Regions from separate parts of the Homo sapiens genome. Here all the other regions are linked to region 1. Evidence: promoter capture Hi-C in 16 types of primary human blood cells and fetal thymus (Javierre and others, 2016). All regions are on one chromosome and are shown on one strand. Each heading gives the region's core, a stretch centred on a gene start or on the middle of the fragment in contact. The rest is flanking DNA. Distances are from core to core; before and after follow the strand shown. Region 1 holds the start of GPD2 (glycerol-3-phosphate dehydrogenase 2). Region 2 overlaps CYTIP (cytohesin 1 interacting protein). Region 3 overlaps GALNT5 (polypeptide N-acetylgalactosaminyltransferase 5). Region 4 overlaps GALNT5 (polypeptide N-acetylgalactosaminyltransferase 5). Region 5 has its middle 5.8 kb from the start of GALNT5. Region 6 has its middle 31 kb from the start of GALNT5. Region 7 has its middle 58 kb from the start of GALNT5.

Region 1 (3,737 bases), core at 801-3,300:
TTCAAGCTAACTACATTCTTTGCCCATATTTTCCTACTTGAGTATAAGAAGGAAAAATATAGGATGGAAGCTAGTCTTTTGAAGTCTACTACTTGCCAGGTACATTGCTAGCAATTTTACACACGTCATAGCATTTATTATCCATATTTTGCCAATGAGACAATTGAGGCTGAGTTTTAAAAGATGACCTAAGGCCAAAGTCTTTGGCTCCCCGCTCCACAACTACCCTCAGCTGGAGTTTGTTCCACAGTTCAGTCGCTCATTGAGAAAACATTTATTGAGGGTGTATTACAAGCTAGTCACCCCTCTAGGCATTGGAGGTCACTCATTGAGAAAACATTTATTGAGGGTGTATTACAAGCTAGTCACCACTCCAGGCATTAGAGTTTTGAAAGTATGCAAGACAGAACAAGCCCTGCTACTCTCATAGAACTTACACGCTAGAGATGAAAGAAAACAACCAAACAGGATAAGTTCAGAGTTATAATAGTTTGCCAACATGAGTTATGCACAATAATCATCAAATCTTTTAAAATATCTACAATGAGATTAAATAGTTACAAAAAAAACTAAAGGGGGTGGTAACACTCACTAACAATTGGTAACACTGTGGCCCTTTTGTCAATTCCTGAACCAAGCCATTGCATCTTTGAATGAATCACAAGGGAGAAAGAAGGAAGCAGAGCTCTAATGCTGTTTAGAATTTCTTTATAAAATAAAGTGACTCTATAAGCTATGAGAATGGACAGTTGCAATGAATCCATTGTTGGTTCTCAAACCCAAAACCCCATATTTACCCATTTATTCATTAAAATATTGCTGTATTATTTCACGAGTTGATTTGTAAAAGTCAAGGGAGTGTTGTAATTTGACATAACGCCCCTGTGAGAAACAGAGGGGGGTTTCAACATCCACATCACAAGGTTCCCCAGACTGCACACGGTCTCCATTGGGCAATGGCATCCAGATGTCATGTGGTAGCCAGCAAGAACTGTAGGACTGGGACTAGAGTGGTCAGTAGCTACGAAGAAGTGCCTGGGCCCAGTGTGACAGCTGCCAGCACCGTCCACACGCCAAAAAGAAACTTCACATCTCTTTAAACTTGGAACACATGCAAAATACTAACAGTTTTGTTTTAGCAATAAAGACTCCCTGTCACTTACTAACTTCCTTCCCTCACCTATTTATACAAGTATAAGTTGACTAGCTGCTATTTCTATAGCTGCCTCCTATGATATTTATAATGTGTTGTGTGTGATTTGGGTTGCCCATGTCACTAACACTTTGCAAGAATTTGTGTTTGTAAATTACTCTGGAACTCTTCTGGGAGTGAATATTCCACTGCACAAGGTGGAAGCCAGACTAGAGACCATCTGCTAAGAGCAGCACTTCATTCACCCAGCTACACCTTCCTGCCAAAGCACTCTTTGCAAATCTATTTTTGCTGGTAGAAGTTACTACATAGGGAGTGGAGGCTGTTTTAAGTTATCAGTGTGCACCTTCCATTTCCTCCTAGGACGGTCACACGCCAGCAGCTGAGTTTCTCAAAGAAGCCTCAGCCCTCCTCCAGACTCGTTCTCACTCTTGCTTCGGAAGGGAGCAACAATCCTTATCAGACTAGCCGCATCTACAAGCTAAAAGTTTGCATGAACTTTCAATGGGGTACCAACCCTCGCCCCAAAAGTCCTGCCACTTTACTATTTTACAAATGCCGCCTCCAAAACATAAACAACGAAACCCTAGAGAAGAGCGAATCCATCTTCTGCTGGTGGGAAGAAATTCTAAATCTTTCCCGTTTCCCGCCACCACCTACCGCCAAGACTGGAGTCCCAGAACACTCGCCCGGGTCAGAAAGGGACCACTCCCCCCCTAGAATACTAGAGGCGGGGGAAGGGGTCTCCCAGGAAGCACACACCTGAGATAGATCCTCACGCGCGAGGGGCCAGCGGGCAGGAGCACCCAGTTCCTCCAGCCAGGGTGGAGTCGGCCTCCCCCCAGAATCAGAGCCTCGGCCCGGGTGCTCCCAGCGAGGCGCGCGGGGCTGTCACTCGAGGCGGGCTGGGCGGGTGTAACTCGAGCGCCGGGCGGGCCGCGCCCCCGCCTTCCCTCTTCCCGACTTCCTCCTCCCGCTCCCGCGCCTGCTCCCTCCCGGAGGCCTGACCAGGGCGGCGAGGCCGCCACCTCCTGCCCGGATACCTCGGGCCCAGGCTCCTCCGGCCCAGCGGGGAAACGCGGAAGTGGGGGCGGGAACCGGGGCCGGGGTTGGCGGGGGTGTGGGAGGGAAAAGCCAACAGCGGGCGGCGAGCGAGGTGGTCTCCGTGGCCCAATGAACGTGACTAGACGGGGACGCGGGTCCTGCCGCCGGGTGGGGTCGCGCAGCGCCACACGCAAGGGCCCTCGCCCCTGGCTGCAGTTCCTGCTTTGTGCCTCGGCGATGCCGGACTCCAGACCTCCGCCCCGCCTTGCCAGCGGGCTGGCGGACTGGAAAGCCTGAGCTAGGCCAGGCTGGGGAAGACGGTGGCGGTGTCCGATTTCCTGTGCCCTCGCCCATGCGGGCCGCCCTGGCCATCTGCCTGCGGGAGAGGAGACACTCGTCCGCCGGCACGCTGGCGGGGCTGGCTTACCTGACGACTTCTCGTTGTCCGCCCTGGGATCTGGCTTCTCCTACTCTGTACCTCCCGGCCGGCAGGCTTCCCTAGGCCTACAGACGTGTCCAGGAGGCGGGCGACCCTGCGACCCCGCCGTCAGAGCCCAGAACCCTCGCCCGGCTCCCCCGGCGGGCTCTGGAGGCGCGCCAGGCCTCCTGGCTCCCCGCCTGAATGTCAGCGCAGGGACCCGCAGGGAAGACCAAGCCCAAGCTCCAGGGGGTGGAATGCTGAGCACAGGTTCCCCAGACCCAGCCTCATACAGGTGGGGGGAGGCGGAGAGCCCCGGCAGCTGAACAGCAGGCTTCCCACTTGCAACCCCCCGCCACCCAAAAAAAAAAAACGACCCTGCCCACTGAGCATGCCCAGCTTACTTGTTGGAACTCCTAGGGCTAGACAAGCCCAAGGGGACCTAAGGAAGGCAAAGTTGGGGCTCAAATGGACCCCACTTCTTTAACAGCTTTGCTCCGAAGACCTCTGGGTGCTGTACTAATAACCTTTCTATCGTGGTATTGGAAAATATCCAGGAGATGGACGGAAATGCCTTTCCAAAAGAAGGAAGAAAATTAGTGTGAACCAAAAAGCAGTGGTATTTTTTTAAATAAAGTATTAAGTCACTCATTTAATGTCCTTAAATACCGCAGAATTCCTGTAGTTGACCCAGAGGAATGCATATATTTATTAAATCCCAAACTCAGTAACTTCAGGGAACCATCCATAGTCCACAGAGGAGCAATGATTCTCACCCTTGGACACATTAAAATTGGGGGGAGGGGGCAGGGAGGGGTGGAATGCCAGATTTCCATCCCCAAGTCCAATGAGTCAGTCTGGACGTGGGATCTGCAAGTCCTTGTATTTTAAAACTGGCTCTAAAAGTGTAGTCACTGGAGCCCGCAGCATCAGCATCACCTGAGAACTTGACAGAAACTGTACTCCAGTGACCTGATTCATAGACTCTGGGGCTGGGGCTGAGCTACCCAGATTTAACAAGCCCTTTGGGTAGTTCTGATGCACATTAAAGTTTGAGAACCACGGTTTAAAAGCTCCCCCAGTTGAATCATGAGCAACCAGAAAAAGGAAATTGTAGTTGAG
Region 2 (3,737 bases), core at 579-3,078, 980 kb before region 1:
AGGCTTGTTTCAAACTCCTGGTCTCAAGCAATCCTCCCACTTCAACCTCCTAAAGTGCTGAGATTACAGGCGTAAGCCACTGCCCTCAGCCCTCAAAGCAGTATTAAAGCTAGTCTAGACTATATTATGGTACAGAAAGAACAAGAAGTTGATTGAGTCAAGCATTTGATTGATTTATTGCTCGATTTTATATTGGCAACCATAAGGGTTGCTGTTAATTGTTACTAGTATCAAAGTTTGGAAAATTCTGCCCAGTTATTGTTCAATCTTTGAAGACTGAGGAACAAGCCATGTTCCTCTTAAGCATTTAATGACGTTCTTGCAATTTTATTATTTTCTTTCCTTTAATCCTTCTCCAAATATACATTTTTTGCCTCTTCCTTTTTAGCCTTCATCTACTCCTTGCAGATTGCTTTGTGGCAAGGATTGCTTGTTTCAACTAGGCTGTCTTTCCTTTGGCCTAAGAGTCCACAGGCAAACCTGAGCTGTGCCCACTTGCTAGGCTTGCTATAGGGACCTGAATTTGCAAAGGAAGGGGAACAGTAGAGAATAAATAATGGGAGACAGTGAGCCTATGGCTATGTCTTTTCAGATGCCTTCTGCCTGGTTTGTTTTAGATTGCCATTGCCTCAGTCCCCTCTGTGGGATAGGCCAAGACTTGTGTGCTGTCTTGACCCATGTGGCAGCTACTTAATTCCCACTGTGGGTCTCAGCTCTCGTGTGCTGGGGCAGCCAAGAAGGGAGGCAGTTAAGAAGTTAGGGTGCTTAGCAGTGTTCTAAGTTTAGCCCGCTAAGGAAGCATTTCAGATAGTTCTGTTCTCCTTTTTTGTGTGGAAAATAAATAGCTGTCCAAGCCAGGCACGGTGCCTCACGCCTGTAATCCCTTTGGGAAGCTGAGGTAGGCAGATCACGAGGTCAGGAGTTCGAGATCAGCCTGGCCAGCGTGGTGAAACCCCGTCGCTACTAAAAAGACAGAAATTTGGCCGGGCATGGTGGGGCGTGCCTGTAATCCCAGCTACTTGGGAGGCTGAGGCAGAAGAATTGCTTGAACCCGGGAGGTGGAGGTCTTTGGGCTTGTATGTTGATGGTGATATTTGTAGAGCATTAACTAAGTTCTAGTCACTGTTCTAAAAATTTTACATCTATGCACTCATCTAATCCTCATAACATTTCTGGGGTTTAGGCTCTATTATTGTCTTCATCCTACAGATGTGGGAATCCTAGAGTATAAATCCTTGCCTAAACAGCAAGTACGTTTTCACAAACCCAAATAATCTTATTAAAATAATTGTTTAAATAAAAGTATATTTTATTGTTTTTCTTGTTTTTTAAAAGAAAGCTTGTTGGTACTACTAGATTATTTTTTGAGGGCATAGTATTCTCAATATCCTCCTTTTATACAGCAAAAATATTTTAAATGGATGAGATGGAATGGTAGTACTAGAAAGAAAGGTAAAAAATTTAATGACAAATCTCAACACCTAGAATTAAATTGCTAGCTTCACTGGGGTTTCCTAATAATAAAAACTTTTTTTTTTTTTTTTTAATCTCACAGCAAACTTTGAAACAAAAATGGGTGGAGTACAGATCTCTGCAGTTACAGGAACATCGTCTGCTTCATGGTAAATGCAATTTCCTGTTCAGAAACCACACTAACATTACTTCTTTCAGTATTTCTGCCTCAAAGTTGGTTTAAGATTATCATCATTATAAGAAAAATTTGTCTAGTGCTGGTCAAGGAAATGGGTCTGTGTTTCTTTGGCATGAGCTTTGGAATGGCTGTATTTGGAGGAGGGGTAAGGCAAGTCAGATCCACTACTGCGTATCATGACGCAGATGCACATGCACACAGATGCACATGCTCGAAAACAGGCACCTGGAGATTTTAGAAAATCATTGGGGAAGATTGCCTAACTTTCCTTCTACTTCAGTGAATGAATTACATTTCTGAAAACAATCACGGCTAAGGGGCTGTATAGTTTTTAGAAGCTATTAAAGCTGGAATGGTTGCACACTTATTGGGTAGAGCTCCTGTCTTTTGTTTAAATTGCATAAGTTGCATTTATGCAGAGAAATTCTTTTTCATGGCCCCCAAGACAAAGACATAAATGCGTAAGATGAATACAACAGTAAATGCATAGCTCTTGCCATTGAGTGCATTTTTAAGGGAAGGGTTGAGTTTAAAATGTGTTAATTCGCTATTTGTTGTATGATAGATGTAACCAAAGGAATGAACTTTTGTGTACAAATAATTCACTGAAACCACTACGTGGGTGTGAAATATAGCTTATCTCTTCTTTAAATAGCACCAAGCTTAAGTCTGTAACCTAGAATATCTGTTAAAAGTGATAATCAATTTGTTTACCAAAAAAGATAACAATTTAATCCTTAACTAGTCACTAATTTATGGCTTAGAGTTCTGGTATGAACTTCTGTTTTTTTTTTTTTAAATTGAAGTGTTTGAAACTTATGTACAAGTTACTTCTCTTTTTTATGTCTTCATTTAATATTTTTAAAAAATTCATAATAGTTCTTTTGGGTAGTGAAGTTTGTTAGAGAGGCAGAAATATTTAATACAAAAACTTCTTTATGGCCTTGTAAATTCAGCCACCTCCTTGCTTTCTTTAGACATGAGGGCTTTTTAGCCTCATTTCCACTTCTGGAGCATCCTGAATGGCCCAGTGAATATAAATTCTTGCTGTTCTATAGAAACAGCCTTGTATAGACAACATTGTTAGGTCAGGATCCTCATAAAGTCATTGTTGTACATATTTTTTGAGCAATTGAAGGAGTTCTGCTTTTTCTAGATGTATAGTAAACATCCAGGGCATGTGATTCTATAAGGCAATTGCTCTCCAATCAAAAGAAATTCATCACTTATTGCAAGATGAAATGAAGTAGGTTGTATTAGCAAAAAGGAAAGCATTATGACTAGTCACCATGGGGCTGGCTGTACTCAACCTTGCAAATCATCTGAAAGAACAGTTTCTTTTTATATTGTCAACCGAGGACAAAAGACAGCAGCAGTGGAGATAATCAGTACAAAATAAAACCATTTTAGAGTGTACAGTATTCTATTATTTTTTCTGAAGCATAGTCACTTACTGATTACGTTTTTCCAAGGCTGGTATTACAAGTTCTCTCTCTCTCTCTCTCTCTCTCTCACACACACACACACACAAGATACCAACCAACTCAGTTAGTGTGGAAGCAGGGAGGGTCATATTGGTATGTGATTAACATTAGAGTTTGAAGAGCCAGATGTACGTTGTTAAGGATCAATGAAAAAAATTTAGCCAAGCAGATAAAATTCAATTTCTTCAAATAAATTATTACTTACTTGAGGACAAGGATGATTTCTGGGTACAGTATCATTCCAGAGAATTTAAGTATTCCAAAACGAAACTGGGAATATTGAGGTTGGAAGATACATTTGATTTCACAAATCCTTTCTCTAAGAAACACTTTTGAATTACCTGTTCCATAACTGTTTTCTATTTACTTCAAATGGTTTTATAATAATTTTAGAATTATTTTTAAAAGACAGTACCTAAGAATCAGAGAAACTAAGTGGAGAAAATCATGATAGTATTTCCCCAAGTGTATTCTATGGAACCCCATTTCTGTGAGAATTTTAATAAAAGGTTTCAGGGTTATTTAAATTTAAGAAATGATCATTTTGGAGGTTCAGATGCCACACTGGTAGACTGTCAATTGGGCTGAACTGTTCTCATATG
Region 3 (3,737 bases), core at 706-3,205, 880 kb before region 1:
ACATGGGATCATACTTTTGGCATATTTTCAAATGGAGAACGGACATTTAAGTTTTTCAATGTGATAGGGAAAACATTTAAAATAAGTAATAATAGAGAATTATGGAGAAGGATAAAGCACCAGAGTATAATAAAGAAGAAATATGTTTGACAGTATGAGAAAGGCAACCACTTCTCTTAAAACTTGAACTTTCATCACTCTAAAAAACAATAGGATTGTAAAATGCAATGTCAAAAACTATATTTACCAATATTAAAGTATCAGACAGAAACATACCACAATGAATATGGGTTTCTGATAACCCCTACAATATTCTACTTAACTTCAAAACTCAGTATTGTTTAAAGACAATGAAAATGTGTATATAGTTCATGAAGAACATGAGATAACTGAGCCAGGCAATCAATACAAACACAATGACATGGGTAGTAGTAAGCAGCTGAACTCACTCAGAACATGGCAAACTACAAAATCAAATGATGATCTCTAGTAGCTAACTGCCAGCACAGGAGAATTTTGGAAATGAATTTAGAAAGTAATTTGGATGTTTACCTAGAATTTAAAGTTACATACTTGATTCCTTCTTTATAATAACTTCAGTCGATCAGATGCAAAAGAAAAAGTACTTAAAAATGTTTAATTCCAACATCCTTTATACTCCACAGTTTTAGTTTTATTCTCCCCTTAGCAAATGTTTTCAGGCAATCTTTAACACAATTCACTTACTTAATCTTTGGCTTCTCTTGTTTTTAAGCTAATATGTATAAAACTAGCAAATTTGGGGTAGTTGTTTGAAGCAGAAGACATGTGTGTAATCTTCAACTAAATAACAAGCACCCTGATAATTAAGAACTTGATTACTCCTTCAAGTTTGGAAAATGGTATCCAGAGTGTAAGTTCACTTGAGATACTTTTGTGCAGAAGGCCAGATGCAGACAAAGCTATACACCTGAAAGAGTTAAAAATATCTAAAAACATTTTATTTTCTTTATGTTGTGAATAGAAACTCTTGATATTTCTTTCTTCCAGATCAAAGCATCAAAAAAAAAAATATATATATATATATATATATATACACACACATACAGTATATTTACAAAAATTGCTATGTTTTTGAGTGGTCACTTAAAAATCTATTCATGCTATGAAAAATTTTAATTTAACATCTAATATAAAGGGTTTATTATATAGATGCTTATGACCAATATCCTTAAACTGGTAAATATCTGTCAATCAATAATAAAACAGAAAGCTCTTGTTTTTGAAAAAAATATTTATTACTTATTTGATGGTGACTCATTATTAGAAACAGCATATTAGAAGTTGCTGTATTTGCTGGAAAATGAGAATTTTCCCTTGTGTTTTGTATGTGTTTTTACAAAGCAAAGATTCACATAAACTTGCAAAGCGACTCTAATTGAAATGATAACTATTGTTCCATTAGGTTGAAAACAGAGGCATTAAATCTGTTTAGTGTGATGTTATTTTTTTCTTTCTTTGAGATACAGACACCACCAACACCTGGAATACTATCCATTAAGCTTCATTAGGGATATATAATACTTTATATGGCTTATTCAAAACTGTCAAAAAATAAATATTTTGTACAATATCTCTGGTTAATTTTTTTTTCTAATTGTAAGGCATTTTGTCTTGTAGCAACTATTGAGTAACCCATGCAAAAGTTGTTGCAAAAGCACAGTAGTGACAACCTACACAATGAGTAGGAATAAAAAGTCATGGTTTGTGTTTTAAAGGACTCCAACTTTTTAACTTTTTATTTCTGTTCAAGATGAGCAATCTGCTAGCTTTGATTAAAGGTTGGAGGGATCAAGGGTTGGTAATATTAATACAGGAGTCATTAAAAATTTATTTTAGGCCATTAGAAAGGGTAAAATAGTTCTCGGTGGATTTTTCCTTTAATAAAAAGCAGCCCCCAAGCCACTTATTTTCTAACAAAAAGCAGCCTGAAAAGTCAAGTTGCAAGTATAGATATGCAAGCTAGAGGCTCCCATATGTAAAGCTAGCAGCTGTACCTGGAAGCCAGGCACATTCAATATGGTGATTCCTGCTCCCTTTTCCTTGTCACCAGGTGTGTGGGTGACATGGCACTGGTGAAGTGAAGCCACGTGTGCAAATGTCATGGTGACAGCCAGGTAGAAGATGCATTTGCATAATAAAAGGTTAGGGTGGGAGGGCCAGTCTTTTCACCGGCTATGTAAGTAGTATACCTGGTTAAACCAATCCCCGGGCCCTATGTATATCAATCACCGCCTCCTCAAGCCTCTGTATGAAATCAATCAAATCTTGCCCCAAACCCAGAAAACCCTCTCTTGAGCAACTGTCTTTCTCAACATGAGGAAGCTTTCTCACTCTCTTCTTTATCTATTAAACTTTCCACTCCTAAACCCACTCCTCATGTGTGTCTGTGTCCTGAATTCTTTCTTGGCATCAGACAATGAACCATGGGTATTTCCCCAGAAAATGGAGCTTTTTCAATATTATTCACAGAGAAAGAATCCTCCACATGTCCACTTCTTTCTTTCACATTTGGTCCAGGAGATGAAAAAGAATAGGTTCTGCATGAAGTCAAAGAGATAGATCACAGCAAAACATGTGGGGGTAGCCATGTTTATACCTACACATCAATTGGTTACCACAGAGAGAGAGAGACCATGCTTCTTTTTTCTGTTTATACAACATCCAAAAGAGGCCAAAGGGGTTTAATTCAATCTCATCTCAATACTGTGGCATCAGTAATCTGAGACCAAGAAACTTTTAAATGCACCCACCTGAGATGACAGCCCTTTGTAAAGAAGAAAATTAATTATATAGCAGCATGGTATAGTGAGAGAAATTTTTTTTGAGCCAGATAAAATGGAAACTGGGTTTTATCTCTTACTTGTGGGATGACCTTGGGCAATTTACCAAATTCCTCATCTGTATGTGGGAGTTATCCTTCTTGTTCATATAACAGGGAGAATGAGAGTCATTTGATGAGTTGTACCCATCAGTGAGATGGGACACATATAGCACCTACACAAATAGTACCTACACACACTCAATGATAATTAGTTCCTTTCTTTTTTCCCATCACCCAATGTCATTTTTTTGTTTTAATCCAAGATTTTGGGGCTTTCTTCTGAGGTAAAAATTATTATTATTATTTTTTGAGATAGAGTCTTGCTCTGTTGTCTAGGCTGGAGTGCAGTGGCGCAATTTCAGCTCACTGCAACCTCCACCTCCCGGGTACAAGCAATTCTCCTGCTTCAGCCTCCCAGGTAGCTGGGATTACAGGCGCCCACCACCATGCCCAGCTAATTTTTGTATTTTTAGTAGAGACGGGGTTTCACCATGTTGCCCAGGCTGGTCTTGAACTCCTGACCTCATGATCCACCCACCTTGGCCTCCTAAAGTGCTAGGATTACAGGTGTGAGCCACTGCGCCTGGTTGGTAAATTTTTTTTCTTGTATTCTGAATATAGGAATTCAATCAGAGATGTTAAAACAAAGAAAGATGGTACTCTCTGGCATGTTTCAATCTTATTCTATTGCATGAGTGCCTGCTAGAAATAATTACAAGCCATTCATGAAATCAAGGTTGGTTGGGAATATTGGACTCCTATATACTGTAAATGGTATCTTTGCCCCTCTGCAGTCCCAAACTAATACTAGAAGTAAGGTGTTTTAATATCTAAAAGAATGTTTCCAAATTAGTGTGGCGAAGCTAATAATACA
Region 4 (3,737 bases), core at 869-3,368, 830 kb before region 1:
TTTCACCCATCATTCACTGGCTTTTCACCTTCAGTTTCCTTCTTAGCTTTCCTTTCCTCTTAAGAAACACAAGATTCTCAGAGCTGGGTCTGGGGCTTTGTTTTCTTCTATGTGTGATATGATTGTATGAGCCCATCATGCTCACAGTTTTAAGTGTGATAATATCTTCATAGTTTATATACAGGTCAGATTTCCCATCTGAATTGCAGACTTAACTTATATCCAAACAATTTCTGAACATCTTCTCTGCATGTCTCACAGGCATCTCACTCATAATGTGTCTGAAACAGAAACCTTGACTTCACCCCACTCAACCCAACCAGCTCCTCTGCATTTCCCTCATAATGGCATCGCCACCCACCTTGCTGCAGAAATATGGATTCTCATCTAGACTTCACCCTCTTCCTGACCATAAATACAATCAATCCATCAACTTCTATTCTGTGTGTTGCCAACAGATATCTCAGCTATAACATCTTTATACCTCCACAGTTGCCTCCCCTAGCTCTTGAGCATCCACTCTCTTTCTCCAGGATTATTGCTGGAGTCTCCTAAAGGGACACTACTTCCACAGTTTGTCAGATCAACACCACTCTTCTGTTTAAAATCCTCAGTCAATTTCTATGGGACAAAGTGAAAAGGAAAAAAATCCAAATTCTTTAGTGTATAGGACCCCTGCTCAACTTTCCAACTGCCTGTCATTCCACTCTCCCCTCACACACTCCACCTTGGCCTTCTTTCAGTTCCCTGAAGAACACTCCAGCTTTTGTTATTTGCTTAACTTCTAGCATTTTTGCTACCCTTCCCATGTCTTCGCAGCTGGCTGCTTCTATTCCTTTAGTTCCTATCTTAAATATTCCCTTCATAGAGATGCCGTCTCTGACAACGCTTTCACATTTTTTTTTTTTTTGAGACAGAGTCTGGGCTGGAGTGGAGTGGCGTGATCACTGCTCACTGCAGGCTCCGCCTCCCGGGTTCACGCCATTCTCCTACTTCAGCCTCCTGAGTAGCTGGGACTACAGGCACCTGCCACCACGCCTGGCTAATTTTTGTGTATTTTTAGTAGAGACGGGGTTTCACCATATTAGCCAGGATGGTCTCGATCTCCTGACCTTGTGATCCACCCGCCTCAGCCTCCCAAAGTGCTGGGTTTACAGGCGTGAGCCACTGCACCTGGCCTACCCTCTCAAAATTAACTATTCTTTTATTATTCTCTATTATTGTGTTTCTGTCACAGCATTCATCTATCAATCTTATTTCCTTATCTTCTGCATCCAAAATTTTCTGAGGGTAGGACAAATCTGCCTTGCTTACTACAGTACCACAAGCTTCCAGCACAGTTACACAATAAATATTTGATAAATATGTATTGAATGCATGAATGAATGGATGGAGATGAGATGGAACTTAAAGCTTAAATAGTGGAAGAAATATTTCCCTTTGAGATAGAAAGTACAAAAAGGTGGTAACGTATACAAATATATTTATGCACATGGGATGAGAAGTTGAAAATATTCATAGCTCATACTGGAGGAAGGGTTATCTGTTAATGTAATAGGCTAGGGGCTTGAGGAGAATGGAGAATATTTTGGACAGATACTATGGGCAATGGGAGAGAATGCTGGCCAGCTAGCTAGGATTTCAGAGGGGCAGTGAGCACTTTCCTGAAACTGGAGATGCCAAAATTTTATGAAATTTCAATATATGATTTGCTCCACCAGTGCCTGCCAGCCTGCGTGTAAGAAGAGATAAAGCAAATTGCTGGATTAATATGAGTCTAAGGGATATCAGAGCACATGAGGTAGAAAGAGAATGGGTAGTGAGGTTTGAGGGGACTGGTGTAAGGTGGTTGAATGTTCCGGCATGGGCTCTGGGTCAGGGAAAGAGGAAGTAAAGCTAAGGGGAGTTTAATAGCCTGAGTGAAAGGGAGGGTACAGAAGAAAACAGCTACAGCCTATGACTTCCTCATCTCTAACTTTATAATATAAATTAATGAGAAATTCACATTTCACAGTTACATTTTTTTTAATGGTATTTGGTGCTGAAAAAAAAATCAAATCAGTTCTGAAAAGAAAGGATCAATTACACAAATTCGGCATAAACCAACAAGCCCGGCTGTGAAGTCCTGAGAGTTGCTTTATGGTTAAAATTTGGTTGGTCTGAGAAACATCCAGTGACAAAAGGAATTGTATCAGGAGGAGTTAACTAAGCAGGCTCATGCAAATGACTCTTCCTATATTTTAAATTAGTAGAGTTTTTGTCCTTTTTAGAAGGAAGTTCTAAAAAGTGCTAGACAGTCTAAAATTGGAGGTAAGAAAAATTCTCAGAAATTTGAGAGATTTGGGGAAGACACCTCTAATCACCAAATATCTAATCCTCTATTCCCCCGATTATGTCATGGTGCCTTAATTTCACTATTAGTACCCTACATGGGCAGATCATGAGAGATTCCACTAGATGCTAATATCCCAGCAAATAAGTAGTACCTCTGCCAATTGTTGACAAATATATATCTTAGATGTGTTTAAAGAATTACAATGAAGAAATTCTGTGGAAGATTATATGGTACAGATCATATTAGTGCCTGGTAAAAGCAATATTACAGGATGGGAAAGAGGGACCCAAAAGAGATGCCTGAGATTTCCAATACAAAGTTTCAGGGTGTGCCTTGATTTGGGGTGACTGACATGTCAAGGCACTCTGACATTTACAGAGACCTGTTCTCCTGCATTACTAAACAGATTAAACATGTTTCCGGGTATCTAGCAAAACTAGTGTGCTTGTTTTGTTCAAAGGAACAGTGGGAAACCCCCGCAAAGCTTTCAGCATTTTAAACTCTTACTCTAGTCTTTCATACTGGAAGAAAGGTTACTTGCTAATGTAATAGGGTAGGGGCTTGAGGAGAATGGAGAATATTCTGGGCAGACACTATGTCATCTAGTTGGCATAGGTTGTAAAAACCATTTCAAGTTATCCTACACCAACCTAATTCAAGCAAGTTTCCTTTATTTCAGTTTTTCCTTAATTTCTGCCTATATCATGGGAGGAGAAATTGCTGCTAAAGTCTAATTTGAATGCCAGATATTTCTAGGTTTGTAACTTTTTTGAGGCTAAGAAATCACATTTATATTCTATATGCCTATTTATTATACAAATTAGGTATTTAGAGTCTACTGGTCCCATGCTATACTTAAAAAATTAATCCAATCTCTTTGTCTTGGGGGGGAATCTAGGCTTAGATTACTGCAGCCAATCCAAGTTCTAAAAACAAATGGGGCCTCTAATGTGGGGAGTTTCACTATCCTGCACTTAGCTGACATACTACTGTGGTGGACAGAAAGACTCTGGACTTGAGAAAGATGACAAGAGACTAAGTTTTTAGTTCATTCTAGCATTTATTGGCCCTATGGCCATGGGCAAGTCAGTTAGGCCCCTAGAACCTTAGTTTCCTCACTTTTAGGATGAAGATTACAATGCCTTCATCACAGAACAGTGGTGAAGATTTGATGAGATAATGGATGTAAAAATATTTTGTGAGCTTCATGCTGAAAAACTCATGTGAGAACCTACGATTACCCATAATGCAAATACACACATTTTGAGGGAGCACACTGCCTTTTTCTGAAGCAGTCCTTTAATCTGAATCTATCAAGTGCTCAACCATTTATCGAGAGACCCAGAAAGTGATGCGTCCCACCCTCCTGGCTTCTGTGTGCTGAATGCTGAGCCACTAACCT
Region 5 (3,737 bases), core at 556-3,055, 820 kb before region 1:
AAGTCGTAGAATGCAGGTACCTTTGGCTGGTCAAATTTCTCAAGAATCTGTACATACTTAGTTGGAGATGATATCCATCTGAAAATCTGGAGTTACGAATTATCCTTGGGAGACATTTGGAGGGGTTATTCCAATTATCAGTCTGACTCCAGCTTGTACTAAACATTTAAAAACAGATTTTAGTTTCTTCTTCTGTAAAACGAGCATAATAGTAGGAGGACTTGCCCTCTACTCTATTTGGTTGTTGTCAGGATAATCATATTAATAGCAACCTTTCATTGGGAATTTACTGAGGGCCTACCACTAGTCACTTCACGGTATCTCATTTAATCCTCAACATTTAATTTTCTCAGACTAGATCAAAAACTGTTCAGCAAAACAGATCTGCATAAAGTTAGAGTGAAAAGTATATTTGTGTTATATTCTCATGGCAAATGTCTTTGAATCATCCTCATTGTTAATCAAGTAGGAGCTCAGTAAACACTGTTTTATATCTAGCCTTAAATCTCCCTGATGGAAGTACAGAATCTTAGAAACACCGGTTCCAGCTCTCTGGCTTTGCATCTACAGTTACTTTATCTGGGTATTTGAAGATTTCTTGACTATGTGAGTATATCCTAAGTAACTAATATCTGTTTTATTTTATGATATTTACTCAACTACTCACTCCTAAGTAAAAAGAAAGATGTAAAAGGAAAATTAATTTAAATGTATATTTTACAGAGAATAATGATTATCCATGGATGCATCACTGAATTTCTTTTTCCCCAGTTTTACTGAGCTATAATTGACTAATAAAATGATACATATATTAAATATTTAAGGTGTACAACATGACTTTGGATAGCCTTATACATTGTGGTATGATTGCCTCAATGCAGCTGATCTCCATTATCTCACATAATTATCTTTTTTTGTGTGTGGTGAGAACATTTAAGATCTACTCTCTTAGCAAGTTTCAAGTATACAATATATTATTATCAACTATGGTCATCAGGCTGTACATTAGCTCTCCAGAACTTACTAATCCTGCGTAACTGAAACTTTGTATTCTTTGACCAATACCTTCCAACTTTCTCCATCCCCCAACCCGCAGTAACCACCATTCTACTCTCTACTTCTATGAGTTCAATTTTTTAGCTTCCGCATATGAATGAGATCATGCAGTATTTGTCTTTCTATGCCTGGCTTATTTCACTTAGTGTAACGTCCTCCAGGTTCATCCACAGTGTTGCAAATGATAGGATTTTCTTCTTTTTTGAGGCAAAATAACATTCTTGTGTGTGTGTGTGTGTGTGTGTGTGTGTGTGTGTGTGATATATATGTATGTATGTTGCACTTTCTTTATTCATTCATCTGTTGATGGACACTTAGGTGAATTCCATATCTAGGCTATTATGCGTAATGGTGCAACGAACATGAGACTGCAGCTATCTCTTCAAGGTGCTGATTTAATTTCCTCTGGATATATAGCCAGAAGTGTGATTGCTGGGTCATATGGTAATTCTATTTTTTAGTTTTTTTGAGGAAACTCCACACTGTTTTCGATAATGGTTGTACTAATTTACATTCCCACCATCAGTGTACAAGTGTTCCCCTTTCTCCATATCCTTACCAACACTTGTTATCTTATATCTTTTTCATCATAGCCATTCCAAAATGTATGAGGTGATATCTTATTGTGGTTTTGATTTGCACTTCCTTACTGATTAGTGATGTTAAGCATTTTAAAAATATGCCTGTTGGCCATTTGTATGTCTTCTTTTGAAAAAGGTCTACTCATTTTTTTTCCCTATTTTTAAATCCAGTTGCTTTCTTGATATTGAGTTGAGCTCTTTGTCAATCAGTAGGAGCGCAATAAACATGGTTATATATTTGAGATATTAACTCCTTATTGGATGTATGGTTTGCAAATATAGTCTGTCATCCATAGGTTGTCTTTTCACTCTGTTGATTGTTTTCTTGGCTGTGCAGAAACTTTTTAGTTTCCTGCAGTGTCATTTGTCTATTTTTGTTTTTGTTATCTGTGCTTTCGGAGTTCCAAATAATCACCACTCAGACCAATGTCAAGATTTTTCCCTGTGTTTACTTTCAGTAGTTTTACACTTTTAGGTCTTCTGTTTAGGTCTTTAATCAACATTGAGTTGATTTTAAACCACAAAGAAATTAAGCAAACAAGCCTATTTACAATAGCATAAAAGTACTTAGGAATAAATATTTTTTAACCAAGGAGATGAAAGCATTTTTAACTAAGAAGGTGAAATCTCTGTGTACTGAAAACTATAAAATATTGATGAAAGAAATGGAAGACATAAACAAATGGAAATATATACTGTGTTCACAGATTGAAATAATTAGTATTCTTAAAATGTTCATACAAACCAAAGTCATCTATAAATTCAATAAAATGTCTATCAAAATTCTGGCGTTTTTCACAGACATAGAAAAAAAATCCTAAAATTTGTATGGAACCATAAAAGATATCGAATAGTCAAAAAAATCTTGAGAAAGAAGAAGCTAGAGGCATCATAGTACCTGACTTCAAAAATATGCTACCAAGTTATAGCAATCAAAATAGTATACTACTGTCTTGAGACAAGCCTGGGCAACATTATGAGACCCCCATCTCTACAAAAAATAAAAAAATTAGCAGGGCATCGTGGTGCACCTCTATGGTCCTAGCTACTTGGGAGGCAGAGGTGGGAGGATAGCTTGAGCTCAAGAGGTCGAGGTTGCAGTGAACCGAGTTTGTACTGCTGTTCTCCAGGTTGGGTGACAGAGCAAGACTCTGTGTCAATAAAAAGTATATGATACTGCCATAAAATCAGCCACATAGACCAATGGCACAGAACAGAGAGCCCGGAAATAAATCCACAAGTTTACAATCAGTTGTTCTTTGACAAAACAGCCAAGAATGCATAAAGTGGAAAAGGTAGTTTATTCAATAAATGGTGTTGGAAAAATTGGATATCCACATGGATAATTAATTTCAACTCATTGCGACTTCAGACAATACAGGATGAAGATACTAATTAGAAAATTTAAATGGGAAAACCAAGTAAATACTAATTACTGTTTTTTTCGGATTTTAATGTGATTTTTTTCTTTCCAAATTCTCTCTTTCTCTTTTTTAGAGAAGAGACAAGTTGTAATCAACTGGATAATAACATCCTGTGAAACAAATCCATAAAAGGAAAGAAAAGTTTTAAAATCATATACTAAAAGGCAGGCATTATTGCAATATCAACAGGTAGAGTAAAAATACAAATGGAAATATTATTCCATTTTAACTAATTCTTCCAATGAAGATGAATAGTTACAACTTCTGGCAGTCATTAAACATTGGTGTATGTCTCTTTTTAAATAAAATTTGGAAGCTGACTAACAAATGACCTTATTTCCTAAGACCAAGAGAATCAGTATACCCTTTACACATTTGTTCTTGAAAAGGGTTGCCTGTATTAGTGATAAATCATAATTGGTTAAGCCTAAGTTTAAAAAAACAAGAACCCTATTATTGAAAGACAATTTATTGTGTTTAGACCTCAGTTTTCATTGATTTTTGAGTAGTGAGGCTAAGCCAACATTTGTGCTATACTACTTTACAGGTCCCTAGCCAATTTTTACTTAAAAAATATTTTAGTTTAATTAGGAAAAATTTAATAAATTTAAAAGCAAAACATTAATTGAGTATCTTCCTTGGACAAAGAACTGTGCTAGTCATTAAAATGGAGAAA
Region 6 (3,737 bases), core at 848-3,347, 790 kb before region 1:
GACTAATATCCAGAATATATAAGAAAGTCAACCAATGCAACAGCCAAAACAACAACAGCAGCAACAAATAATCCCACTAAAAATTGGGCAAAAGATATGAATAGACATTTCTCAAAAGAAGACAGAAATGGCCAACAGGTATGAAAAATTGCTCAACATCACTAAAGATTAGGGAGACACAAATGAAAATCATGATGAGATATTATCTTATCCCAGTTAGAATGGCTACTATTAAAAAGGCAAAAAAAAAAAAAAAAAAAAAAACGGATGCTGGTGATGATGTGGAGAAAAGGGAACCCTTATACAGTGTTGGTGGGAATGTAAATTAGTACAGCCATTATGGAAAACTGTATGGAGGTTTCTCAAAACACTTAAAAGTAGAGCCAGCACAAGATTGAGCAATAACACTGTTGAGTATTTATCCAAAGGAAAGGAAATCAGTATATTGAAGAGATACCTGTACCCCATGTTTATGGCAGCACTATTTACAATAGCCAAGATATGGAATCAAACTAAGTGTCCATCAGCAGATGAACAGATAAAGAAAATGTGGTAAATAAACACAGTGGAATACTACCTGACCATAAAAAGAATAAAATTATGTTATTTGCAGCAACATGGATGAAACTGGAGGTTATTATGTGAACTGAAATAAGCAAGGCACAGAAAAACAAATATCATGTGTTCTCACTCAAATGTGAGAGGTTAAAAAAATAGAACTCATGGAGATAGAGAGTAGAAAGAGGCTGGGAAGGGTGTGTGTTGGCGGTGGGGGGTGGGGGGCATTGGGGGAATGAATAAAAATTGTTTAATGGGCACAAACATACATACAAACATACAATTAATAGAAGAAATAATGTTTGATAGTACAGTAGATTTACTATAGTTAACAACAACATATTGTAGATTTCAAAATAGCTGGAAGAGAGAACTTGACATATTCCCAACACATGGCAATGATAAATATTTGAGGTGATGGATAGCCCAAATACCCTGACTTGATCATTCCATATTCTATGCATGTAACAAAATGTACAAATATTATGTATCAATAAAAAGCTAAATCTAAACATGCTTCTCTTAAAAATATAGAAATTGACAAAGCCAGAAGTCTAACAGGCAAATAAAATAGATTAACTTGAAAAGGCTAATAAAATGGGTAAATGTTTGGTAAAATGATCAAGAAAAAAAGAGGACAGATAACAAATATAATAAATGGAAAAAATGACATTATTATAGACCCTTCAGAAACAAAAAATATCGAAGGAGAATATCATGAATGACTTACAGTAATACATTTGAAAATTTTGGTGACATTGAGAAATTTCTAAAAAATCAAAACTTACCAAAACTGATGCAAGAATGGAAATAAGAAATAAGAGTGTTAATATAAAATTTTAATATGAAATAATAAGAGTATAAACCATCAATATCTTTTGCTATTAAAATATTGAATTCTGAATTCAAAAAGTAAACAAATTAACCCAAATAAAACCAAACTAAGCTGACCAATCAAACAATATCTCTTCTTTCCACAAGAACAAAGACATCAATTTAGAGCAATTCTACTAGAAAATAAAAAGAAAACATTCCTCAACTTGTTTCATGAGGCAAGCGTAACTTTGAAATGAAAACTTCTTAAGAATATTTTGAGTAAGAAAATTGACAAGCCAATCTTACTCAGGAACATAGATATAAAATCCCTAAACAAAGTATTAGTAAACCCGGAATGGCAATACACAAAAAGGATGATACATCATGATTAAGTTAGGCTTATTATAGGAATGCAAAATTGGTTTATCATCATAAAAATCCGTGGACTTCACAAATTAAAAAAGAAAAATCATATAGTCTTCTCAATATATACAGAAAAAGCTTAGACTAGAATTCAATTCCCATTCATGATCAAACATCTTAGCAAACTGTGAATAGAAGGGAGTTCTTAATTTAATAATGGGTATCTACAAAAACATCCAGAAATATAATACTTAATGGGGAATGCCAGAAACTTTCATCTGGATTTGAAGAATGGAACAATATGGCTGCAAATTTACTACATATTCTTCAATGCTGTCTTGAAGAGCCTAACTGATACAGTCAACCAAGACAAAGGAACTACAAGAATTGGGAAGGAAAAAATACAATTGTCATTGCATTTCAGAAGATATAACTGCATAACTAAGAAATCCTCAGGCATCTATAAATAAATTATTACAATTTAAGTGAATTTAGCAAGATTACTGAATAAAAGGCCAATTAAAAAGATAAAAATATATAAATTGCATATCTACTACACTGTAGAGTCTGAAATAAGCTTCAAATATGAGTGTTAGCTAACTCATCTAGCTAAATCCAAAATTTCAAACTCAGAGGTGACTCTTAATCTTATTTTTTTCTTTCAACTCCCTAGGTATCTGTATTCCTAGATATTTTATTCTTTTTGTGGCAGTTGTGAATGGGATTGCATTCCTGATTTGCCTCTCTGCTTAGATGTTGTTGGTGTATAGGAATGTTGCTAATTTTTGTACATTGATTTTGTATACTGGAACTTTGCTGAAGTTGTTTATCAGCTGAAGGAGCTTTTGGGCAGAGACTATGGGGTTTTCTAGGTATAGAATTATGTCATCTGCAAATAGTGATAGTTTGACTTCCTCTCTTCCTATTTGGATGCCTCTTTTTTCTCTTGTCTGATTGCTCTGGCTGGGACTTCCAGTATTACGTTGAATAGGAGTGGTGAGAGAGGGCATCTTTGTCTTGTTCTGGTTTTCAAGAGGAATGCTTTCAGCTTTTGCCCATTCAGTATGATATTGACTGTGGGTTTGTCGTAGATGGGCTTTATTATTTTGATGTATGTTCCTCCAATGCCCAGTTTATTGAGGGTTTTTAACATGAAGGGATATTGAATTTAATTGAAAGCCTTTTCTGCATCTATTGAAATAATCATGTGGTGTTTGTTTTAGTTCTATTTAGGTGATCACATTTATTGATTTGCATATGTTGAACCAATCTTGCATTCCTGTGATGAAGCCTACTTGATAATGGTGGATCAGCTTTTATATTTATATATATATATATATATATATATATATATATATATATATATATATATATATATTATACTTTAAGTTCTAGGGTACATGTGCACAACGTGCAGGTTTGTTACATATGTATACATGTGCCATGTTGGTGTGCTGCACTCATCAACTCGTCATTTACATTAGGTATATCTCCTAATGCTATCCCTCCCCCATCCTCCTACCCCACAACAGGCCCCAGTGTGTGATGTTCCCCTTCCTATGTCCAAGTGTTCTCATTGTTCAATTCCCACCTATGAGTGAGAACATGCAGTGTTTGTTTTTTTTGTTCTTGCGATAGTTTGCTGAGAATGATGGTTTCCAGCTTCATCCATGTCCCTACAAAGGACATGAACTCATCATTTTTTATGGCTGCATAGTATTCCATGGTGTATATGTGCCACATTTTCTTAATCCAGTCTATCATTGTTGGACATTTGGGTGGGTTCCAAATCTTTGCTATTGTGAATAGTGCCCCAATAAACATACGTGTGCATGTGTCTTTATAGCAGCATGATTTATAATCCTTTGGGTATATACCCAGTAATGGGATGGCTGGGTCAAATGGTATTTCTAGTTCTAGATCCCTGAGGAACCACCACACTGTCTTCCACAATGGTTGAAGTAGTTTATAGTCTGTGGGAGGAATTTACCCCAAATTTC
Region 7 (3,737 bases), core at 848-3,347, 760 kb before region 1:
TTCCAAAGTGGTTGTACCATTTTGCATTCCCATCAGCAATGAATGAGAACTCCTGTTACTTCACATCCATGCCAGTATTTGTTTGTGTCAGTATTTTGTTTTTTGGTCATTCTAATAGTTGTATATTTGTATATTGTTTTAATGTGCAATTTTCTAATCATGTGTGCTATGGTTTGATTGTGTCCCCTTCAAAATTCAGGTGTTGCCAATGTGATAATATTAAGAAATGTGACCTTTAAGAGATGATTAGGCTGTGAGGGTTTTTTCCTTTCTAATGGGATTAAGGGGATTAAGGCCCTTATAAGACAGACTTCACAGGGCATTTGGGTAGGTTGCTATCTTGACCTTCTACCTCTGCCATGTGAAGATCCAGCAAGAGGCCTTCACCATACACCAAATGCTAGTGCCTTCATCTTGGACTTCCAGCCTTTAGAACTATGAGAAAATCCATTTCTGTTGTTTATAAATTGCCCACCTTGAGGTATTGTTATAGCATCACAAAATGGACTAAGACAACATGTGATGATGGACAACATTTCATATGCTTATTTGCCGTTTGTATATCTCCTTTGGTAAAGTGTCTGTTCAGGTCTTTTGTCCATTTGTTAATTGGATTGTCTCTTTCCTTGTTGAATTTTAAGAGTTTGTATATTTTGAATAACAGCCCTTTGTCAGATGTGTCTTTTGTAAATAGTTTCTCTCGGTCTGTGACTTGGCTTCTCATTCTCTTGACATTGTCTTTCACAAAGCAGAAGTATTTAATTTTTATGAAATCTAGTTTATCCATTATTTCTTTCATAAATTGTGCCTTTGGTGGTGTGTCTAAAAAGTCATTGCCATAGCCAAAGTCATCTAGGTTTTCTCCTATGTTATCTTCTAGAGTTTGATAGTTTTGCATTTTACATTTAGGCCTATGATGATCCATATTTGAATTAATTTCACCAATGCCACACCGTCTTGATTACTGTAGCTTTATAGTAAATCTTGAAGTCAAGTGGTGTCAGTCTTCCAATTTTATTCTTTTCCTTTAATACTGAGTTGGCTATTCTGGGTCTTTTACCTCTGCATATAAAGTTTATAATCAGTTTGTCAGTATCCGTAAAATCACTTGCTAGGGATTTGATTGGAATTATGTTGAATCTATAGATCAAGTTGGGAAGAATTGACCACTTCACAATATTGAGTTTTCCTACCTATGAACATGGAATGCCTCCACATTTATTTCTTTCATTAGAGTTTTATCGTTTTCCTCATATAAATTTTATACTATTTTGTTAGATTTATACCTCAGTATTTTATTTTTTGAGTGCTTATATAAATGGTAATATGTTTTTAATTTCAAATTCCATTTTTTATTGCTGATATGTAGAAAAATAATTGACTTTTATATATTAAACTTGTATCCCACAGCTTTGCTTTAATTGCATATTAGTTCCAGAGACTTTTTTCAATCATTTCAGATGTTCAACATAGATCAAAAACAGTTTTTTTTTCTTAAAATCTCTATATCTCTTATTACTTTTTTATTCTATTGCATTAGCAAGAACCTCCAATATGATGTTGGAAAACTGCAATGAGGAGAGATAACTTTCCCTGTTTCCTGATTTTAGAAGAAAAGCTTTGAGTTTCTCGCTACTAAGTATGGTGTTATCTGTAGTTTTTTTTTATTTTTATAAATGTTCTTTATCAAGTTGAGAAAGTTCCCTTCTATTTCTAGTTTGCTGAGAGATTTTATCTTGAGTGGGTATTGGATTTTATTAAATGCTTTCTGTGCATCTATTGATATGGTCATGTGATTTTTCTTATTTAGCCTATTGATGTAATTGATTATATTACTTGATTTAAATGTTGAACCAGCCTTGTATAGCAAATTCCTACTTACTTGTGATGTGTAATTCTTTTTATACATTGTTAAATCCAATTGCTAATATTTTTTGAGGATTTTTGCACCTATATTCATGAGAGATATTTGTGTGCAGTTTTCTTTTCTTGGAATGTCTTTGTCTTGACTTGGTATTAGGTAATACTAGACTCATAGAATGAAGTAGGAAGTATTCCCCCCTGTTTCTGTCTTCTAGAGGAGATTGTAGAGAATGGATATATTTACTTCCTTAAATATTTAATAGAATTTACCAGTGAACTCATCTGGGCCTGGTGTTTTCTGTTTTGGAAGATTATTTATTATTGATTTAATTTCTTGAATAGAAATAGACCTATTCAGAGAGTCTAGTTTTTATTTTGTGTGTTATGGTAAATTGTGTATTTCAAGGAATTGGTCCATTTCATCTAGGTTATCAACTTTGTGTACATATAGTTGTCTGTAACATTCATTTATTATCCTTTTAATGTCCTTAAGATTTGTAGTGATGCGCCCTCTTTCATTCTGATATTAGTAATTTGAGAGTTTTTTCTTAGTTAGCCTAGCTAGAGGCTCATCAATTTTATTAACCTTTTCAGAGAAACTGCTTTAGGTTTTGTTGATTTTCTCAATTGATTTCCTAGTTTCAATTTTGATTTATTTTTATTTGTTTCTTTTGCTGAATTTTGATTTAATTTTCTATTCTCTTTAAAGCTTATGTGATTGATTTTAGATTTTTATTCTTTTATAATGTATGTATTCAATGCATAAATTTCCCTCTAAGCACTGATTTCTCTGCTTCCTACAAGTTTTGATAAATTGTATTTCTTTCCTTTCCTGCTCCCTACATTCTTTCCCTCCTTCCTTCCTCTGTTCTTCCTTTCTGTTTATAGACAGTCCCCCTCTGTCACCCAGGCTGAAGTGCAGTGGTATGATCATAGCTTACTGCATCCTCGATCTCCCAAGTTCAAGTGATACTCCTGTCTCAGCCTCCTTAGTAGCTGAGACTACAGGCACACACCATCATCCTTGGCTAGTTATTTCTTTTTTCTTTTTTTTTTGTGGAGATGGTGTCTTGCTATGTTGCCTAGTCTGGTCTCAAACTCCTGGCCTTAAGCAATCCTCCCATGTTGGCCTTCCAAAGCACTGGGATTATAGGCATGATCCACTGCGCTCAGCCAAGAAAATGTATTTTCATTTACATTTATTCCTAAATGTTTAAAATTTCCATTGGGGTTTCTTCTTTGATCCATGTGTTGTTTAGAAGCGTGTTGTTTAATCTCTGATTATTTTAGAATTTTCTAGTTATCTTTCTGATATTGATTTTTAGTTTAATTCCATTGTGGTTTGAGAGCAGACATAATATGACTTATATTCTTTTAAATGTGCTTAGGTGTGTTTTTTTTCTTTATCTTTAATTTTCCAAGGTTTGAATATAATATGCATAGGTGTCATTTTGTTTTATTTTTGTTTTTGTTTTTGCATTTGTCTTTCTTAGTGTTCTGTGAGTTTCCCAGATCTATGATTTGATGTGTGCCATTACTTTGGTGGGAATTCTCAGTCATTATTACTTCAAATATTGCTTCTGTTTCTTTCTCTCTTTCTTCTCCTTCTTGTATTCCCATTATGCATATGTTACACCTTTCATAGTTGTCCCACAGTTTGTGGATATTGTGTTCATTTTTTTCGTTCAGTCTTTTTTTCTTTGCTTTTCAGTTTTAAAAGTTTCTATTGCCATATCCTTAAGCTCAGAGATTCTTTCCTCAGCTGTGCGCAGTCTATTAATGAGCCTATCAAAAGCATTCTTTATTTCTATTACAATTTTTTTATCTCTAGCACTTCTTTTTAATTATTTCTTAGAATTCTCATATCTCTGTTT

The links. The method cuts DNA at HindIII sites, captures the fragments that hold promoters and counts their contacts. A CHiCAGO score of 5 or more calls a contact.
Region 2: a contact is called between a fragment that was not itself captured here and the fragment with the promoter of GPD2 in region 1, in 3 of 17 cell types (M0 macrophages, M2 macrophages and M1 macrophages). The highest score is 9.2, in M0 macrophages.
Region 3: a contact is called between a fragment that was not itself captured here and the fragment with the promoter of GPD2 in region 1, in 1 of 17 cell types (neutrophils). The highest score is 5.9, in neutrophils.
Region 4: a contact is called between a fragment that was not itself captured here and the fragment with the promoter of GPD2 in region 1, in 1 of 17 cell types (erythroblasts). The highest score is 6.4, in erythroblasts.
Region 5: a fragment that was not itself captured here is called in contact with the fragment with the promoter of GPD2 in region 1 in 1 of 17 cell types (erythroblasts); the score reaches 8.3 in erythroblasts.
Region 6: a contact is called between a fragment that was not itself captured here and the fragment with the promoter of GPD2 in region 1, in 1 of 17 cell types (erythroblasts). The highest score is 7.2, in erythroblasts.
Region 7: a contact is called between a fragment that was not itself captured here and the fragment with the promoter of GPD2 in region 1, in 2 of 17 cell types (endothelial precursors and erythroblasts). The highest score is 7.4, in endothelial precursors.

The regions. Positions count from the first base shown.
Region 1 is chr2:156,434,692-156,438,428 of GRCh38, reverse strand. It overlaps GPD2 (glycerol-3-phosphate dehydrogenase 2), which reads right to left and starts at 2,050. Exons shown (of 17, transcript NM_000408.5): 1 at 1,916-2,050. RefSeq lists silencers at 1,929-2,338, 2,779-2,948 and an enhancer at 2,489-2,538. The HindIII fragment of the contact is 5,965 bases long and covers 1-3,737 here.
Region 2 is chr2:157,416,408-157,420,144 of GRCh38, reverse strand. CYTIP (cytohesin 1 interacting protein) reads left to right here. Exons shown (of 8, transcript NM_004288.5): 7 at 1,556-1,622. Among named protein-coding and RNA genes, the nearest start is that of CYTIP, 26 kb to the left of the region's middle. The HindIII fragment of the contact is 974 bases long and covers 1,342-2,315 here.
Region 3 is chr2:157,314,513-157,318,249 of GRCh38, reverse strand. It overlaps GALNT5 (polypeptide N-acetylgalactosaminyltransferase 5), which reads right to left. Exons shown (of 10, transcript NM_014568.3): 10 at 1-3,737. Among named protein-coding and RNA genes, the nearest start is that of ERMN, 9.4 kb to the left of the region's middle. The HindIII fragment of the contact is 823 bases long and covers 1,544-2,366 here.
Region 4 is chr2:157,268,276-157,272,012 of GRCh38, reverse strand. The region is part of intron 1 of GALNT5 (polypeptide N-acetylgalactosaminyltransferase 5); the gene reads right to left. Among named protein-coding and RNA genes, the nearest start is that of GALNT5, 12 kb to the right of the region's middle. The HindIII fragment of the contact is 1,406 bases long and covers 1,416-2,821 here.
Region 5 is chr2:157,250,071-157,253,807 of GRCh38, reverse strand. No RefSeq gene overlaps it. Among named protein-coding and RNA genes, the nearest start is that of GALNT5, 5.8 kb to the left of the region's middle. The HindIII fragment of the contact is 4,490 bases long and covers 1-3,737 here.
Region 6 is chr2:157,224,377-157,228,113 of GRCh38, reverse strand. No RefSeq gene overlaps it. Among named protein-coding and RNA genes, the nearest start is that of GALNT5, 31 kb to the left of the region's middle. The HindIII fragment of the contact is 439 bases long and covers 1,878-2,316 here.
Region 7 is chr2:157,197,567-157,201,303 of GRCh38, reverse strand. No RefSeq gene overlaps it. Among named protein-coding and RNA genes, the nearest start is that of GALNT5, 58 kb to the left of the region's middle. The HindIII fragment of the contact is 954 bases long and covers 1,621-2,574 here.